Linked DNA regions of Homo sapiens: all the other regions are linked to region 1. The links are contacts of gene promoters, found by promoter capture Hi-C in blood cells and fetal thymus (Javierre and others, 2016). All regions are on one chromosome and are shown on one strand. Each heading gives the region's core, a stretch centred on a gene start or on the middle of the fragment in contact. The rest is flanking DNA. Distances are from core to core; before and after follow the strand shown. Region 1 holds the start of ATP8A1 (ATPase phospholipid transporting 8A1). Region 2 holds the start of SLAIN2 (SLAIN motif family member 2). Region 3 holds the start of TXK (TXK tyrosine kinase). Region 4 overlaps ARAP2 (ArfGAP with RhoGAP domain, ankyrin repeat and PH domain 2).

The links. The method cuts DNA at HindIII sites, captures the fragments that hold promoters and counts their contacts. A CHiCAGO score of 5 or more calls a contact.
Region 2: a contact is called between a fragment that was not itself captured here and the fragment with the promoter of ATP8A1 in region 1, in 1 of 17 cell types (non-activated CD4 T cells). The highest score is 5.4, in non-activated CD4 T cells.
Region 3: the fragment with the promoter of TXK here is called in contact with the fragment with the promoter of ATP8A1 in region 1 in 3 of 17 cell types (non-activated CD4 T cells, naive CD8 T cells and total CD4 T cells); the score reaches 15.2 in non-activated CD4 T cells.
Region 4: a contact is called between a fragment that was not itself captured here and the fragment with the promoter of ATP8A1 in region 1, in 1 of 17 cell types (fetal thymus). The highest score is 9.8, in fetal thymus.

What each region holds. Positions count from the first base shown.
Region 1 is chr4:42,655,827-42,658,526 of GRCh38, reverse strand. It overlaps ATP8A1 (ATPase phospholipid transporting 8A1), which reads left to right and starts at 1,422. Exons shown (of 37, transcript NM_006095.2): 1 at 1,422-1,702. The coding sequence starts at 1,654. It overlaps ATP8A1-DT (ATP8A1 divergent transcript), which reads right to left and starts at 1,004. Exons shown (of 1, transcript NR_186688.1): 1 at 180-1,004. RefSeq lists enhancers at 986-1,195, 2,186-2,235 and a silencer at 1,226-1,695. The HindIII fragment of the contact is 6,451 bases long and covers 1-2,427 here.
Region 2 is chr4:48,340,483-48,343,182 of GRCh38, reverse strand. SLAIN2 (SLAIN motif family member 2) reads right to left here and starts at 1,654. Exons shown (of 8, transcript NM_020846.2): 1 at 1,055-1,654. The coding sequence starts at 1,443. RefSeq lists silencers at 1,174-1,483, 1,624-1,963 and enhancers at 794-1,707, 2,114-2,233. The HindIII fragment of the contact is 7,807 bases long and covers 1-2,700 here.
Region 3 is chr4:48,132,874-48,135,573 of GRCh38, reverse strand. It overlaps TXK (TXK tyrosine kinase), which reads left to right and starts at 1,324. Exons shown (of 15, transcript NM_003328.3): 1 at 1,324-1,419. The coding sequence starts at 1,404. RefSeq lists a silencer at 1,588-1,882. The HindIII fragment of the contact is 7,086 bases long and covers 1-2,700 here.
Region 4 is chr4:36,241,261-36,243,960 of GRCh38, reverse strand. All of the region lies in intron 1 of ARAP2 (ArfGAP with RhoGAP domain, ankyrin repeat and PH domain 2), which reads left to right. Among named protein-coding and RNA genes, the nearest start is that of ARAP2, 1.9 kb to the left of the region's middle. The HindIII fragment of the contact is 1,441 bases long and covers 585-2,025 here.

The DNA.
Region 1 (2,700 bases), core at 173-2,672:
GAGATGTTCCATGAACACTGAGAATACATTTTCTTTGTTCTAATTCCAGCCTCTGAATCAGAGCCAACTAGAGTGGGCTCTTCATAAATATGCATTGACTGCCTGAGTATTAATGTAGGGCAGGGCTCTGATTAGCAAGTGCTACCTGCAGGAAGCAGAAGAAATACCACAAATGGAGATAGGACGCTATTAGCAGATTTTATTTCATTTTTTCCTGAGGCTTGGAAATAATCACTTCTCTCTCAGGTCAAACCTCTCCAGCTCTCTCCCTTCAGGATGTGAAAAGATCTCAAATAAAAGGCCTCTATGTGAGGATCTCTTTCGCTGGTTGCTGGAGGAAGAGCATGAAATGAGGGAAGAAGCAAATTGCTTCTGATTTATTGTTTCTGGTTTATTCCTTTCCTGCCAGTTCAGCAGCTCGCCAGAAACAGCACAAAACCTTACATCTTAACTTGAAGGTGAAGTATTTGTTTTGACAACTTTTTAGCATAGATCTCGGTATACAAAATAAAAGGTAATGAGGCTATGATAGTCTGAAGGACATCGGCAAATTAAAATTTAACATATTTATGGATTTTATACAAAGACTCCTCTCCCCTTTGCAGATAAAACGACTGCATCCAACTTTATGCAGATTTAACTAAAAGAAAAAAAAAAAGTCTTTTGTGAACCACCTGGGCCAATACTTAGTTGGCTTAATTGCTATTTCAGTGCCTTGTCAGGCTGCAGAGCCTGAACTAGGGAGATGCACCGGGCCCACTTGCAGGCGGGGCCCAGATGCACCCAAGCCCCATGGACAAGAGCACCATGGGCACCAGGGGCCTCCCGACCTGGCAGCCTGTTGCTAGTGGGCGAGGCAGGAGGACAAGTGCGGCTCAGGCCACGAGTCGGGCTGGGCGTGCAGAGAGGTTAGAATTACACCCAGATGGCGAACAGTCAGTCGTTCCTTTCCTGCTCTGGCTGGGAGCTAAACCTTGTAGTCCCAGACCCTTTCGCCTTCGCCTGCCGGCTCAGACCCAACAGCTCTTTCCGGACGACGGGCGGCTCCACTGCGATCAAAAGCCAGGGGTAGCGGGAGGGGATTCGTGAGAATGCAGCAGCCAGAGCAGTCTTTCCTTTCTGAGCAAGATGTGAGAGAGTCCGAGTGGCCTGGAGGAGGAACCGGGTCAACCAACTCCACAGGGCGGAGCGAAAACGCTGGAGGACTAAGGAGGCTAAGAGTTGATCCCCCCTTTGAGTCGTGATACGGTCCGAAGCGGGGCGGGGCGGGGCGAAGGAGGCTCCCCCTGGCTCTCCCCGCCCCTCACCCGCCTTCCTTGCTGAGCGGCCGCGGGAGGGGGAGCGCGAGCCCCGCAGGCCCCTCCCCCGGCGCCGGCGCCCGAGCTCCGCCCCTCGCCGAGCCGCCCCTCCGCGGCTGCAGCAAGAGCTCGCCCAGCTCTGCGGGCGCCGCCACCTTCGCCGCCACCGCTGCCTTTCTCCTCCTCCTGTCGGCGTGCGGGGGCCGCGCCCGGCGGCAGCTCTGCCCTAGGTGGGCGGCGGCGCGGCCCAGGCTGCAGCTGAGCGCTCTGCGCGGCGCAGCCGGGTCTCCCGCGTGTACCACGCCGTGACAGGTGCAGAGTCCGGGCTGAGGACCCACCTGCAGCCGCCGCCGCGATGCCCACCATGCGGAGGACCGTGTCGGAGATCCGCTCGCGCGCCGAAGGTAAGGGGCCGCCGAGGCTCGGGGCTAGCCCGGGGTCGGGAAGCGAGTGTGTGTGTGAGCGTGTGTGTTTATCCTGGAAGAGACCGCATCCTACCTCTTCCCCGGCGGCAGTCCGACTGTCGCGCCCGGCCCCTAGGGGACCCTTCCCCCCGCGCTGCCCCCAGTGTACTCGCAGACCCTTTCCAGGCTCCAGTACCCTCGAATGGGTGTTCTCCGCGGGAGCCCCGAGGCGTGCTTTGCACCGCAGTGTGACCATTAGGTCCCAGTCACTGAGCTCACTCGCCCTGCCCACCTCCCTCCCCACCAGTTCGATTTCCACTCAGCAGATCCCCAGCCCGCCGCCCCTGCCTCCGGCGCCCACCGTTTTGCAACCCCCTATCTGAGCTCCCAGCGAAGCGAGTTTGCTTTTCCCCGGCTGCAGGATCCTTTGATCCGTAGTCCCTTGGCTCTCGAAGCGCGGGGAGCCTTCATCGGGGTCGGGTGCCGAGTGGGTTCCCTGCATTACAGCTTCTGCAATTCTGCCTCCTGCAGCGGAGTCCCACCGGCTCGCGTCTGAGGTTTCGTTTTTGTGTTTCCCTTTTGCCCGAAACCCTCACTTCGGCCAGCTGAGCTGACTTTTCAGCCAGGTGGAAGCTGTTTTCTTTGCTCCACCTGGGGCCAGCTCTTGAATGGCCATGGTTGTCAACACTGAGCAACAGATGCTCCGGGGTAGAAGCAAGTAAGCTTTCCGAGGGCCCAGACTCTTCATCGTCTCCGAGGAGCCCTCAACATCCTGCCTGCCATGTGGCAGGCACTCTGTAAATATTATTTGATTTTGCTCGCGTCAAAGCCAAGACTGTAAATATCCCAAGGTTTGTTTGTCCTCTCCCATAAACCTGTACTTGAATCCTGCAGAGGGTGGAATAACATGTTTTTCAGAAATCTATCTTGCCATCATCGCTGATTCCCACTCTTCCTCCCCACCTCCATCTTTTAATGTGAGACAGGTGGTGAAGTGG
Region 2 (2,700 bases), core at 172-2,671, 5.7 Mb before region 1:
CTTAACTACCTCAGAACACTGCAAAGTTCCAGCCCTGCAATACCAGAGTCTATGAATGATTTCGATTTCACTGTTAGAAGTTTTAATTTCAATAGAGCAGAGACATTTTAGCTAAAAGTTAAAACTTTAAGAAAAATGAATTAAGACAAATAATTGCCCACACACATCTTTATAATAAAACGAGAGGAAAAGCCTCCCATGTCCTATTTATGAAAGTGATATTAAGGTGGGGGGGCCACAATTTCATCAAGAAGTGGCTTATGACAATATAGCTTTGGTTTAAATTTTTAAATAGGACTCTTTTTCTCTGCCCCTAGAAGGACGTGGAAATGAAAGATGGATGTGATAACTGTCAATTCAGAGCTCTGCAAAACGCCAGACTCAATTCTTGTTTTAGAAAATAAGAGCCAGGGCTCGTTCCACCCTTGACTCTTCACACAGAGTAACAAAAAAAAAAAAAAAAAAAAAAAAGCAGCACCATCCTCTGCCCTCTCTTCACACAAAGCAAGGTTTACCCCACTACCCAAAGGGGAGTGCTGATTCATACGGTCTCCCCATCCCCGCCAGAAATGGGTCCCAAACACCAACCGCTGCATAGACGTAGACGACTCTGGTCTGCCCCTGACCCCCACACCTGGTGATACCTCATCAAGCAGACCCCTCTCCTACATCCAGAATGCCCAGGGCCACCATCCGAAAGCCAGTATCTTACACAAAGCAGGATCCCTGCCTACAAAGCAGTTTCCCACCTCCGACTCCTCCCCAGGCGAACAGCCCTTCTCAAGCTGCCCCAACCCACAGACCCCAATAGGGTCCAGCACTCAGAAGGTCCACAATCCAAAGGACAACGAGCTACAACCCTGTTACTTGCGCACGCCTCGAACCCCCAACTCCAGCTGACGTTCCCTCTGCCAAAGCAAGAAAACCACAAGTCGCCACAGGAGAGCGGACCCGGCTACACAAAGCGAGGCGCCCGACCAGAGGGACCCTCAGAGGACGCTCTCCGCCCCCGGGCCCGTCCCCGCCCAGCTCCTGCCCGGCGCCTCGCGCTCACCAGCTCTCCTCCTCCTCCTCCCAGCCTGACAGGCGCTCCAGCTCGTCGGGCCGCAGCGGCTCCACCTCGTCCAGCAAGCCGCCCTCGCCCGCCGCTAGCAAGGAGGTGGCGTCCCGCAGCTCTTCGCTACTCGTCCGCCTCGGGCCCGACCCGGGCCCGCCGCCCGACTTGGCGCTGAGGCCCAAGGGGAAGCCCCGAGGAGACGCCGCGCCGGAGGAGGGAATGGACGCGCCGGCCCGAACCGGGCTGCCGGGCCCAAGGGAGCCGGCGCCCTGCACGGCCCCCGAGCGGCTCCTCAGCTGTTCGTTCTGCTTCTCCAGCTTCTTCACCAGCTCCTGCAGCTTCCGCACCTCCTGGTCCGCGTTCACGTTGGAGTTAACGTCCTCCATCCCGGCCCCGCCGCCGCCGCCGCCTCCGCCGCCCGCTCGCTCTCGCAGCGACAGGGAAAGAGACGGAGGAAAGAGGCGTCGCCGCCGCTCACTCTAGCCGAGGCGCCGGCATATAGCAGGACCAGGCCCCACCGCCAGGGTCCCCCCACCTCGGGTTCCAAAGCGCCGCTGGCCCCAGCCGAACTGCCTCATCTGCGCCGGCTCCGGGATTGGGGGAGGCGGCGCCAATATCCGGCCCCTGCCGCCATCTTCCCTCCGTCCCTCCGCCCCCCGCGGGCCGGCCCAGTCGGTGACCTCAGAGCGTCGGGGGTGGACGCGGCCGCCGGCGGGCGCTGAGAGGACCCGGCGCCAGCTCGCGGCGGGGCGGGGCCACGGACGGGGCCTATGGGGCGGGGCCGGTGCTTGAGGGGCGGGGATTAGGCCGGAAGGGGCGTGTCGGCGGATGTGGGACGCGGCCGGGCTGGCTAGGGAGGGTCCCTGCAGAACGGGAGGCCAGCAGAAGGCTCGCGGCGGGCGGGGCTGAGGTGGCTAACAAGGTCCTCGAACAGCCTCGCCTGTTGGTCTGGGCGTGTGGGCGTGTTCTCCACCCCTTACAGGGAGTGTGGGACCCGCGGGCCAGTCTCGCCCTTGTTCCGGGCCGGATCTCGAGTGGGCGCTCAGCCCGGCGGTGGAGAGACAGTTTACTTTGTTCAGCAAATATTTAATCGATGCCGACTTTTAATTGGAGATTGTCTCGGCTGGCAGGAGCCTCTAGACTGCCTGTGTCCTGTTTCTTCCCCTGAAAATAAGAAACCCCAGTTTCAGACAGTTAAGAGAGGTCTAAGGTCAAAATAATCATAATTTCTTGAGTGCTTCCTACTGGCCAGACAGTGTGCTAAGCACTTTTAAAGGCATTATCTCATCGGTTAAAACATAGTTTTCCCGACTTAAAGTTTACAGCACACTGGGGCGGAAGCGGGGGATAGTAAACCGCTTCTCTACTCCCTTTCTCCGTTTATTGACTCACACTCTGTTCTTTGGATCACTTCCTTCGGAAAAAGTTCCTCGTAGTGTGTCTTGACTTTTTTAAAAGTTGTATGTTAAAAGTAGTTAAACACGCTGACAGATACTGAAGAATGAAGAAAATTGTAAGAATGTGAAGTCTGCCTTTAGAATGCGGCAGGAAACCTAAACAAAACTTAAATGCTTTGTTTTGATCACATTATCACAGTCGTTGGTCTTCAGAGGTCAATTGTGAACGGCTTTGGCTTGTGTTTG
Region 3 (2,700 bases), core at 75-2,574, 5.5 Mb before region 1:
ATATATATTTCCTGATATTAGCCTGGCATGCATTAGCTATTTTTCCTGATGCTCTCCCCTCATCTGCCCTCCCCAACAGGCCCCAGTATGTGTTGTTCCCCTCCCTGTGTCCATGTGTTTCATGGTTCAGTTCCCACTTATAAGTGAGAACATGTGGTGTTTGGTTTTCTGTTCCTGCATTACTTTGCTAAGGATAACGGCTTCCAGTTCCATCCATGTCCCTGCAAAGGACATGATTTCATTCTGTATAGCTGCATAATATTCCACGGTGTATATGTACCACATTTTCTTTATCCAGCCTATCATTGATGGGCATTTTGGTTGCTAACCATGCACAACTTTTAACTGACTTGTAGCTCATTGAAGGAGTCGGTCCTGGCACACTCTACCTTACTATCACTGTCAGCCTTTTCTCCTTCCTTCCTGACCTTCCCTCCTCCCATCCCATACTTCCCTTTTCACCTTGAGGAGCTACGGGAAGTACTAGGTGGTATGAAAGAGAGTGAGGAGAAGATAGAGTCCCTGTCCTAATGGTCAGTGTATGCTTTTTATGGGAAAACAAGATAGATAGCACCTGGCAACATTTGTCAACATTTCCTTCAAAAATCTTTAAATATTTTTCACTAAGACTTAGAAAAAAAGTTTTATACGAAAGCATAACAAAGGCAAAAGGTGAAGTAAAAATAACAGTCATCACCCAGAATGCTAAGGAGACCTTAATCTAAACCAGGAAATTGGAAGGGCGATTAGAATATGCTGTGTCTTCATTAAAGTTGCTCTGTTAATTAGTTGACACATGGTTATGCTTTCCAGTGGGATGAAGTGAAACTCCCAAGTGTGTTTTGTATTGTTGGTGTTTTTATATTTCTCAGCCATCCCCCAATCACATTTTAGGGTTATTACTAGATTGACTTCCCCCAAATAAAGTGTCTGCTGAGTGGGAGGATGGAACATTCTAAACTCAATATTCCAGAGCCTAGAATCTAATTGTTTCTGCCACTCACGGTGTGGCCTTGGGCAAGTCCCTTATTCTGTCTGTGCCTTCATTTCCTTCCCAGTCCAGAGAGGGCAGTTTGATTTGATAATTTTAAAGGTGCCTTTTACCAAAATTTTGTGATTTCTTGAAAATGATGTTTGCGAGTCACCCACACCTTTGGGGATGAGAGACTAATAGCAGATACCCTCAGAGATTGGGATGGAGATTACTGAGCTTTCTTATATATGCCATTGGTTGTCATTTATACTCTTCTGAGGTTTTCAGAACAGGAAAATAGGTGGGGTTAACTCTGCCCGTGAGAAACATCTTGAGCGAACTATGATTTCAGTTGAAAGATGTGTTTTTGTGAGTAGAGCACCGCAGAAGAACTGAAGACTGTTGTGTGCTCCCCGCAGAAGGGGCTACCATGATCCTTTCCTCCTGTGAGTAAGATGGGCTTTGTCATTTATTTTTGGGGCTTGTTCTGGGGCCTGTTATTCTTGAACAGCAGAGGAAGTTTTTTTTTTCCAAGGCATAGAGCTTGGGGACATTAAAAGATAATTTCCTCAGATGTTGTGACAGAGTTTTGTTTCTTATTTAAAGAACCACAGTGATGATGTAATTCTAATAAAGGTTCAGCATTGAGAACATAAATGAAAGAAAAACAGAAAGAGTGTCCAGAAATCTGCATATGTGTGTGTAGAAATGCAATCAGTATGAAGTACTTGTTTTTAGAATGAGACTGTAATGAGCTCTGGGCTGAAGGCCAGGAGACCAAGTTCTAGTTCTGGATTTGCTCCAGCAGTGGTGGATCACAGTGGGCAACTTTATATATATATAAATACACACACATACACACACACACAAATAAATATCTATATTTAAGGCAAAAGGAAGAGAAGTCAAAACACAACTGTGTTTATACTCTGAAATTATCTGCTTTATCAAGTAAACATATAGACTTAACCTTTATTTTCACAGGGGTATTTATTCACAATTCTATGTAGACTTCCGTTATCGAGGACCTTTCCCAAGCAATTGAAATTTAGGCAAAACTGATTCTTATCTGCAGTCAGAGCCTGAGTAAAGGCCAAAATAAGAGTCAAAGTCACGAGTCTCTACCTGGTTAAAAGTGTGAACATGGTCAAGTGTGAACACTGGCTCAAATGTCTCTTTCCCTCATATATAATACTACATATGAAGATGTTATTTTAATATTTTTATAGAATATAAGACCATCATTAAAAATAAGTGCTTGTTTTAGGAGAACAGAGAAAGATTCCCTAGACACTGTTATCTGTGAAGATCCTTGGTTTGAAAGAGCTGTGGGGGATGCTTATAAATCCAAAGAAATTAGAATAAAAAAAAAAACCAAGCAGAATAGTCTTCTAAATAAGAAGGCAGCCGTCATATCAGAATTGCAATGTGTTTGTTTCTTTATAAAGGTATTTATTGAGCACCTACTATGGGCCATGGTCTATACCAGTTCCTTTATATTCATTATCTGAAATCTTCACTACAAACTGGCAAGGTGAAAATTGTTATTCTTATCTAGCCAATAAGAAAATTGTGCCTTTGAAAGTTTAAATCTTGCCAGAAACTCATATGGTTGTCAGACGCAGGATTTAAGTATGAGACTTTTTTTTTTTTTTTAGACAGAGTCTTGCTCTGTCACCCAGGCTGGAGTGCAGTGGCACGATCTCAGCTCACTGCAACCTCCACCT
Region 4 (2,700 bases), core at 56-2,555, 6.4 Mb after region 1:
GGATTTGACCCGGGAGGGTGAGGATCCGGATAGACAGCTGGACACTCCCTCCATTCCTCTCCCCTACCTTTAAATAAGAAGAAGCTGTAGTGAGTTTCAGGCACCAAGTTATTTACTCGGTAGAGATCATGAATTTGCCCGGGTGTCTGTGCTGCCCCGCACCCTGCTTGTTAACCACGTTAAGACGACTGGCCTGTTAATTAACTTTAATTACGATCATTTGGCTTCCACCTGCCTGAACCCGATACCTTACACGGGAACCTGTATGATGTGAGTTTACCAGATTGATCTTTCTTGTTTACTTTTGGAGACAGTTCTCTTGGGAGAAGTGGTGTCCATCCTATTTAATAAAGTAAGTTTTACTTTATCTAATTCTGGCTTGTTTTCTTAAACACCTCCTACCTTGAGGTGATCTGGAGTTATTTTGATTTGGGGAAAGGGTTCGTGGATTATATAGCCTTTGATAATTAGAGGAAAACACAAGAAAATAAGCTAATTTGTGTGGAATAATGACATCTTAGGGTGTTGTAAGTAGGTATCCTGATAGCAAATTCTTTTTTTTTTTTTTTTTTTTTTTGCAAGCTTGTCCTTGAAGTAGGCTGTTCAGTAGAATACAGCCTTCGGTTTAAAAAAAATCAAGAAGTGTATTGAAAATAAGCTATTTTTAAAAGTACATTTAATAGGATGTCATTGTTATTACTCATAATAGTATTGTACTTACAAGCTCAGTATTGATTTATCTGCACTTAAGCACTCTACACCCCCACAGGCCCATGGAACTTTGCCCGTAAGTAATTGGAAGATAAAAAGCAAGCTAACTTTTTTTAAGGAAAAAAAGAGAAATACCTTTAAACTCTTTTTTTTTTAACTCTTATTTATGACTTCCATACACTTACAGGAGAAATATTGAGAGAAAATACTCATGACATTTTTTGTCCAACAACGTTTAAAGAAGAAAAAAAAGTGGGTCATGGAACTAGGCTAGGGTTAAGTGCAAATATCTTCCTGGCTTCTTTCTAAACATATTTAACACATACACATTTAAGGTGGTTCCTAACACGAAGAGGGTTTTATATAGATTTGTCAGTACTCAAAGATTTATTTGAATTAAAATGTACCTAGAGGGTAAGTGAGAGAGCTTGTTAAAACGTATTTATATGGGTGTGTGCTTGTGTTTGTATTTTTTCCTTCGTCTGTAAACCTGTCAGATTTTATGTGGCTTGTCTGTAAAAGGAGAAGCTGATGGTACGTTTAAAAACAAATTCTTGTTTTTCTAATATCACTGCAAGCTCCTTGCAGTGTAAGGCTCATGGATATGCAATAATATCAGATCCAACTATTCTTGGATACTGTGGAGAAGTATAGAACTCAGATTATAATGAATTACAGTTTTCTTAAGAACTTTAACGCATTGAAACTATGAAGTTTTAAAGTCTACGTAGAATTCTGGGTTATAGACTTCATGATATATGAGAAGTTTTTTGTTGTTGTTGTTGTTTCGTTTTGTTACTTTCTAACCCACCTCCCTGCAACTGTGAGAAAGTTTGGTGAAAGTGACTATAAAAATGCTAAGTATAAATAATAGTCATTGCTTTAATAGTTTTCTTTTAGCATACATTTCCACCTGTCCTCATTTATTTATTGATACATTTCTTGGATACAATCTTTGCACATGCTACATTGTAAGAGTTTTGGGAATTCTTGGTGAAATATTAATTAGGTAGAGAACTTCTTAATAATCTGGGAAATATGTCTTAGCTTTGACCACATATGGTGGATGTGAGATTAGAGGCTATGAGACGCTGTCTTAATCTTTTCTGCAAAGTTCTGGACCTTGTAATTTATCATTTTAGTTATTACTTGTAAGTATTGGCCAGATTAAATATATAATGGTAGTTAAACCATTTTGCTCACTTGTTTCTTCTTTAAATGAAGCAGTACTTAATGGTATTCTCCTCACGTGATCTTTTCTAGTTAGAAAGTTGTCCTGTGAAATTTTGTTTCAGTTTCTGTTCAGCACAAGCTTACTTATTTACCCATGCTGCAGAGAAAACAAAGGAGGCCTGATTTGGGTTGAAGCAGTGGTTTAGGTGGCAGATTTGAGATTTTTTAGAGTTCCTGAGAACTCATGAAGGATGATGGGGCCACTTCTCCATGTATTTAAAACAATACTAAAATATAAAACCATGTGGAAATTAGGGTCATAAAATTGGATTTTTCTCACCATTACAATTTAAGTGTTTTTTTTGGAATATATCAAATTCTTTGCAAAAAGTTGTTTTTTTGTGGTGTCTTTGGTATTGTTTATTGGCACTTACTGAGTAATAATGAACTGATTGTTCATATACGTGCCATTTACCTTTTCTTATAGTCATGTCTCATCTACCCTTTTAGATTGTAAACTCTTGGAGGGAAGACTGTATCTTCACTTTCTTTGTAGCCCTTAGCACTGTTGTCAAATGAGACAGTAGAGGCTGTTATCTTGAACACCAAATATCTCCCTCTCTTATCTTGGAGCGAGTAGTGTTGCTTAATATATATTGAATGAATACATGTTAAAAAATGGTCCAGTAAGGTAGGAGACGTTTTCTGAAATGCCCTCTTTTTATAAGAAAAAGAAACTTTGACAATTGCTAAACCAATAGGAATAAACCCTCAAACTCAGTTGGAAAAGAGGTCAGAGTACTATTTATAAATGCA